2 separate regions of the Homo sapiens genome follow, and region 1 is linked to region 2. The links are contacts of gene promoters, found by promoter capture Hi-C in blood cells and fetal thymus (Javierre and others, 2016). All regions are on one chromosome and are shown on one strand. Each heading gives the region's core, a stretch centred on a gene start or on the middle of the fragment in contact. The rest is flanking DNA. Distances are from core to core; before and after follow the strand shown. Region 1 holds the start of F2RL1 (F2R like trypsin receptor 1). Region 2 holds the start of F2R (coagulation factor II thrombin receptor).

Evidence for each region. Contacts are between HindIII fragments. The CHiCAGO score rates a contact against its expected background, and 5 or more counts as called.
Region 1: the fragment with the promoter of F2RL1 here is called in contact with the fragment with the promoter of F2R in region 2 in 1 of 17 cell types (endothelial precursors); the score reaches 5.0 in endothelial precursors.

The regions. Positions count from the first base shown.
Region 1 is chr5:76,817,718-76,820,778 of GRCh38, forward strand. It overlaps F2RL1 (F2R like trypsin receptor 1), which reads left to right and starts at 1,313. Exons shown (of 2, transcript NM_005242.6): 1 at 1,313-1,547. The coding sequence starts at 1,466. RefSeq lists enhancers at 1,029-1,646, 1,647-2,264 and a silencer at 1,047-1,341. The HindIII fragment of the contact is 1,972 bases long and covers 784-2,755 here.
Region 2 is chr5:76,714,547-76,717,588 of GRCh38, forward strand. F2R (coagulation factor II thrombin receptor) reads left to right here and starts at 1,580. Exons shown (of 2, transcript NM_001992.5): 1 at 1,580-1,849. The coding sequence starts at 1,762. RefSeq lists a silencer at 1,386-1,635. The HindIII fragment of the contact is 2,891 bases long and covers 1-2,823 here.

The DNA.
Region 1 (3,061 bases), core at 63-2,562, 100 kb after region 2:
ACATCTAAATCCTCTTCTACAAGCGAATCCTTTAAATATTTGAAAATACCTATGTCTCTCTTCTGTGCTCTTCTGGTACCAATAGTTTAAATGGGTAACAGTAGACTTTGTTTTATTCAATCTTTTAAAAAGCAAATAAAAAGTAAGACATGCTGGGTGCGGTGGCTCACGCCTGTAATCGCAGCACTTTGGGAGGCGGAGGTGGGCTGATCACGAGGTCAGGAGTTCGAGACTAGCCAGACCAACATGGTGAAACCCCGCCTCTACTAAAAATACAAAAATTAGCCAGATGTGGTGCACGCCTGTAACTCCAGCTACTCGGGAGGCTGCGGCCAGAGAATTGCTTGAACCCAGGAGACAAAGTTTGCAGTGAGCCGAGATCACGCCACTGCACTCCAGCCTGGGAGACAGAGCGAGACTCCGTCTCAAAAACAAAAAGTAAGACATTACCAATATGATGCCAACCCTCATGCACTCATCCCCAACCCCACACTTCTCTTCTCCCACCCCTTCTATCTGCTTTTGTATTTATTTAGCCTATGGGATCCCAATGCAGAGGAGCCCTGGTGGACGCATTTATAGTGCAGCGATGAATAGAAGACAGTGATAGTCTTATACTGGAGTTGAAATGTGATAAACATTTATACACTGTGTTTATAAGTCGTGTAACTCTGGCCAATTTATCTGGTCTTTCTAAGCTCACTTTCCTCGTCTGTAAAATGGGAAGAATAATCATACTTATTGCGCTGGTTGTTATGGGGATTAAGCAAGATAATTCTCTAAAGCTTTGGCACTTGGCGCTGAAAGTAGCCATTCCATGTCTTCTTTCCCGCCCCGCCTCTTGTGCTCCCCACCGCTTTCGTGATGTCCGCAGTTGCCCACCTGCCTCTACAATAAAAAACGCATCCCTCCTCCTGCAGGGTCCACCGCACCGGGAAGCCCTGTCTGTATCAGTTACCAACCACAATTGCAGTGAGTACGAATCGTGGCTTTCCCACAGTCAGGAAAGGCAAGGGAGACCGACGACCCGCTTCTCTAGGAGTAAGTAAAGATTAAAGGTAGTTCGCGGTATAGCCTAGGCAGGGATTAACCCGTGGTCCCAGCGCTCCTGCTATTTGCATTCCAAAGCAGACACCTCATGCGCTCAACCCCGCCCGCAGGCGGCTCCCGCAGTCTAAGGGACCTGGCGCGAGTCCGGGAAGCGGAGGGCGCAGCTGCGCAGGGAAGGGGGCCGGGGGCGGGACCAGGGCGCGCGTTCCGGTCCCGGGGCGTGGCCTCCCGCAGGTGAGTACGCTGCTCCTTCGGTTTCCCTGAAACCTAACCCGCCCTGGGGAGGCGCGCAGCAGAGGCTCCGATTCGGGGCAGGTGAGAGGCTGACTTTCTCTCGGTGCGTCCAGTGGAGCTCTGAGTTTCGAATCGGCGGCGGCGGATTCCCCGCGCGCCCGGCGTCGGGGCTTCCAGGAGGATGCGGAGCCCCAGCGCGGCGTGGCTGCTGGGGGCCGCCATCCTGCTAGCAGCCTCTCTCTCCTGCAGTGGCACCATCCAAGGTGAGAAACCTGGCCAAGGAGGGCTCTTATCTCTGAGGAGCTGGGGTCCTGGGCACGCTGGGCAGACGGTGGGATCCGGGCAGGTGTGCGAAGGCTGTTCTGCTGCCGGCACCCATCTCTACGAATCCCTTAGCCTCCCCTTGGTGGCTTTGATGTGAGGTCTCTGCGCCAAGGAGGCACCCAGGTGGGACATGCGGGAGCAGCTGAAGTCAGCGGAGCCGGGCAGAGGCAGAGATTTCCCCAAAGACCCCACTTCCCGTAGAGGCTGTCATGCTGGGCACCTCCAGGCCCCAGCGTGGGTTCGGGGAAAGGGAGGGAAGGAAGGAGTAGCTGTGTCTAAAGGGTACGCAGAGGACCTAGTCCCCTCCCCGGGCTTGGTTGCTTTGTAAACACTAAGTCATTAAGAGCTTTTTGCCAACTCCGGAGACTTCCTCCGCTGGCCCCGCGGGGCCGGTGGGGTTAGCGAGCTGATTGCGCAGGGCAGGGCGGAGTGGGTGGGAACCCGCGGCCCGGGAGCCTTCTAGGTTGTTTTTTGCGTCCCTCTCCAACTGCTGGAAGCCTTTCTTCGGGTTCTGGCCCCTGCGTTCGAGACCCACCCGGGTCCCGCTGCTCCTGGCACCCACAGTGGAAGGCCCGGGGTATGAAAGTCAGGGCCGGTCCCTGATGGGTTCTGGTGGTAATGAGCGCTCAGGCCCGTTGGGCGCCACGAGGATTTACGAGCGGAACTTTTTGGACCCTGCCTTATATTTGACCAGTTGACCCTCTGGGCCTGGGGTTCCGGGACTTTCCTAGTGTGCCACCCGGAGCGGCCACTGGCTGCCACCCAGGTCTGCAGGCCAGAGGCTGGCTGGCCTGGGAACAGAGCAGCACTTGCGCCCGGCCGTCGCGTTCCTTGGATGTGCTGCTCCGGGTGTGCTCGAACTTGTATTGCTGGGAGTGTGTTCTTCCGGGCCCAGCAGGCCTCGCTGTGGCCGTGGGGGATGTTTGACCTGCGATCGCGCCACTGTGATCCTAACCGAGGCCCCTCTGTTTGGGGCAGCCTGGGTAGCAAAGGGAGCTTTTAATTTCCCTCAGAAATGCGCATTTCTCACTTTTATCCTCCTCTTCATAAAGACGAAGTAAAAGAGCAAGTCACAGTGGGTTGGAATTAGATGGAAGAATGTGATTCTTTTCCCTCTGCAGTTAGGGAAAAGGGTGTTAATGGTGTAAGCTTGAAAACTGTGCACCGCTGGTATATTTTTTTTTCTTAATCAGCATCAGAATAAAGGCATTTAGTTCCAGGAAGTATTGAAAACTGTAATGGACACCTCTCCTCTATGTCCTTTAAAGTTGGAAACTTAAAATTCAGGAGCAAAGGTTAGTATGTGCAAACTTTAAAAAAATACATGTTGGTATAGCTGATTCAACATCTTTATGATTCAGAGATCCCTGTAGGAAGCATGCCCCGATTATTTGTCTTGTTCTTGTTTACTACTCTTGGGGGATTGGGAGATCCCTGGATTATAAGGCGAACT
Region 2 (3,042 bases), core at 330-2,829:
TGAGGATGATGGGAGAATACAGGGAAGAACGAAATCGCCTCTGATCGTACTTTCTCCACGGATGTAAGTGTCCGGGCTCTAGTGGGGGAATGATACTCTTCGTGCGAAATTCACTTTTAAAAAAGGCTTAGAAAACTGACCACCGGCTCTCAGCTGCAGCTTATCAACCACAGAACTCCGAATATGCCCGCACATCAGTGCGCTGGGTTAAGAGGAGAAGGGGCTGCGGCTGAGCTTTCCTAGAAACAGCTATTTGGGGACCCATTTCCTGTTGGAGTCTGAAAGGCGCACGCACCAGAGCCAGTGGCAAAGCAACTTAAGCTGCAGGCTCCTCCTGCCCACCCCCAGCCGCGACGCCCCTGGGGGCCCTTAGCAGACTGCCAAGCGAGTGTCCCCGCCCTGTGCCTTGAATTTAGCCAAACTCCTTTAATATCAGGCCTGGCGCGGTGATTCACGCCTGTAATCCCCGCACTTTAGGAGGCTGAGGCAGGAGGATCGCTTGAGGCCAGCAGTGAAATTAGCCGGACATGGTGGCGCGCGCCTTTCTGTGGTCCCAGGTAATCCGGAGGCTGGGGCGAAAGGGTGGCCTGAGCCAGGGAGATCGAGGCTGCAGTGAGCCGTGTTGGCGCCACTGCACTCCAGCCTGGGCGACAGGGCAAGACCCTGCCTCAAAAACAAAACAAACTGTAATATCGTTCAAGAACGTGTGAAGGACACTTGGAAAGTTACCAGGCCATTTCTCTCCTGGGCGCCCGCGGCCCTAGAACGCCGGCCTCACCGGCAGACGCGCGCCCTCCTCCCAGATGCGCAGGTGACCCCGGCGGGCGGCGCGGGAAAGGGAAGAGCTCCGCGAGGCCGCGCGGGGGGGAAGCGGGAGAAGCCGCTCTTCCTATTCCACTCGCAGTCTGCGTGTGGGGGAAACGAGTGCCCGGCGTATGAAACGCCTAACTTCGCGAAATAAAGAGAGACGTATAAAAGTTCAAGAATTCTGTCCAGACTCAAGGGCCCTTTCTCATTTAGGGGCAACCCTGTCACTACATCATAAACTTTTAAATCCGTGATCCCCACGTTACAAAAGCAGAAGTCCCTTTTAGACTTTTAGCGAAAACTGAACTTTGCCGGTGTCCCACACGGAGGGAGGGAGGACGGGAGGCCACGCCAGGGCTGCGGGGCTGCAGGGCGTGGACGCATCCTGGCCGGGGCGTCCACTGTCGACGTCTCCACATCCCAGGAGGGTCGAGACGGCCGCGGGAAGCAGCCTGCGAGCCGTGCGGCCCCATTCCAAGGACCCCGCCAGTGTGAGTCACTGACAGCTTCGCGAATCAACGGTGCCCAGAGGAAAAAACTTCTCATTTGGACTTCTAGGCCCGGCAGTGGCCGGCGGCCAGGGCCCCCCAGTAGGGCAGGGCGGGGCGGGGCGGGGCGCACAGAGCCAGAGGGGCTTGCGAGCGGCGGCTGAGGGACCGCGGGGAGGGGGCGCCGAGCGGCTCCAGCGCAGAGACTCTCACTGCACGCCGGAGGGCGCCCTTCCTCGCTCGCGCCCGCGCGACCGCGCGCCCCAGTCCCGCCCCGCCCCGCTAACCGCCCCAGACACAGCGCTCGCCGAGGGTCGCTTGGACCCTGATCTTACCCGTGGGCACCCTGCGCTCTGCCTGCCGCGAAGACCGGCTCCCCGACCCGCAGAAGTCAGGAGAGAGGGTGAAGCGGAGCAGCCCGAGGCGGGGCAGCCTCCCGGAGCAGCGCCGCGCAGAGCCCGGGACAATGGGGCCGCGGCGGCTGCTGCTGGTGGCCGCCTGCTTCAGTCTGTGCGGCCCGCTGTTGTCTGCCCGCACCCGGGCCCGCAGGCCAGGTGAGAGATGCACGGGAATGGGGTGCGCGGGCGGAGGGACGCCGAGGGGAGACTGCGGGGGTCACTGTTGCGCCTTCTCCTCACCCCTGCCTCAGTTTCCTCCGAAAGCCAAACTGGCATTTGGGCTGAGATCTGGAGTTTTTTCCAGTCACGTTTAGGTGGGGCGTGCCACCCCCTTCGCGGGCCCAGCCGATGCCCCTTTGGACTCGATCTTGGAGGGTGCAGCCCGCCTGCCACGGGGTGTTGGATATGGAGGAGGATGGAGCGGAAGCCCCCTGGGGGAGCCTGCAGTCCTGCGTTGCACTTGTCATTGTGTTTCTCCCAGGACCACCCCCAAAAAGAAAAGCTCTCACGTTGCTCCACCAATAAACGTTTCGATCTTTAAAATATAAAGTGGCGAACCGCTGCCGCTGAAGTTTTGCTTTGTTGGAAGTTTTTTTCTTGCACATTTTACAGGCGAGAAAAGTGATGTAGAGAAAAGCCCAGGCAGTCCCTTGGCATGTTTAGCAGAGAATCAGTACCAGCAGCCCCCGGCCCGGCCTTGTGTCCAGGAGGTGCGCAGGGTGCGAGATATATGGTGACAATAGCAGAGGCTCCGCGTGGTGGCGGGGGAGGGGACATGGAGAGGATTTTGTTGTTACCTAGAACCCATTCCTTCTAAGTGAGTTGAAGAGAGAGATCCCTCCCCAGGACCGGGCTCCCTCGAACACTGTGGGATCCCAGTATTTCTTAACGAGATTTCTGATCCACTGCAAGAAGGTTGCTCCCCTAGAATATTTTCCCCACTAGTAGTCTATTTTTAAGTATCTGGCCACTTGACCAAATAAATAAATTTGATTAATTTATTTGGTCAAATATTTTCTGTATCCCTTTCCCCAAGAGCAGCACAGATGAGTTGTTTTTAGCCTGTAAAGGCGCTAATTAGAAAGTGAGAAAAGTGTTTTTGAATTTCCTAATAACAATAGTATTTTATAAGCTTTGAGCCATTTTTTTTACGCTGAAAGAAGTTCTAGCGGGTTTTCTTGTTATCGCTAAAAGAATGTGCACTCTATATTGCTCCCACACTCAAAAAAAAGTGTAGACACATCAAGATTAAGAGGTGACAAAGACATAGCATGTTCTCGCCTCTCTGTCTTTGTTCAGGGTGAGTTTTGAGATGCTTTTGGGAAAACTAAGAGCTCCAGACTGGGGCC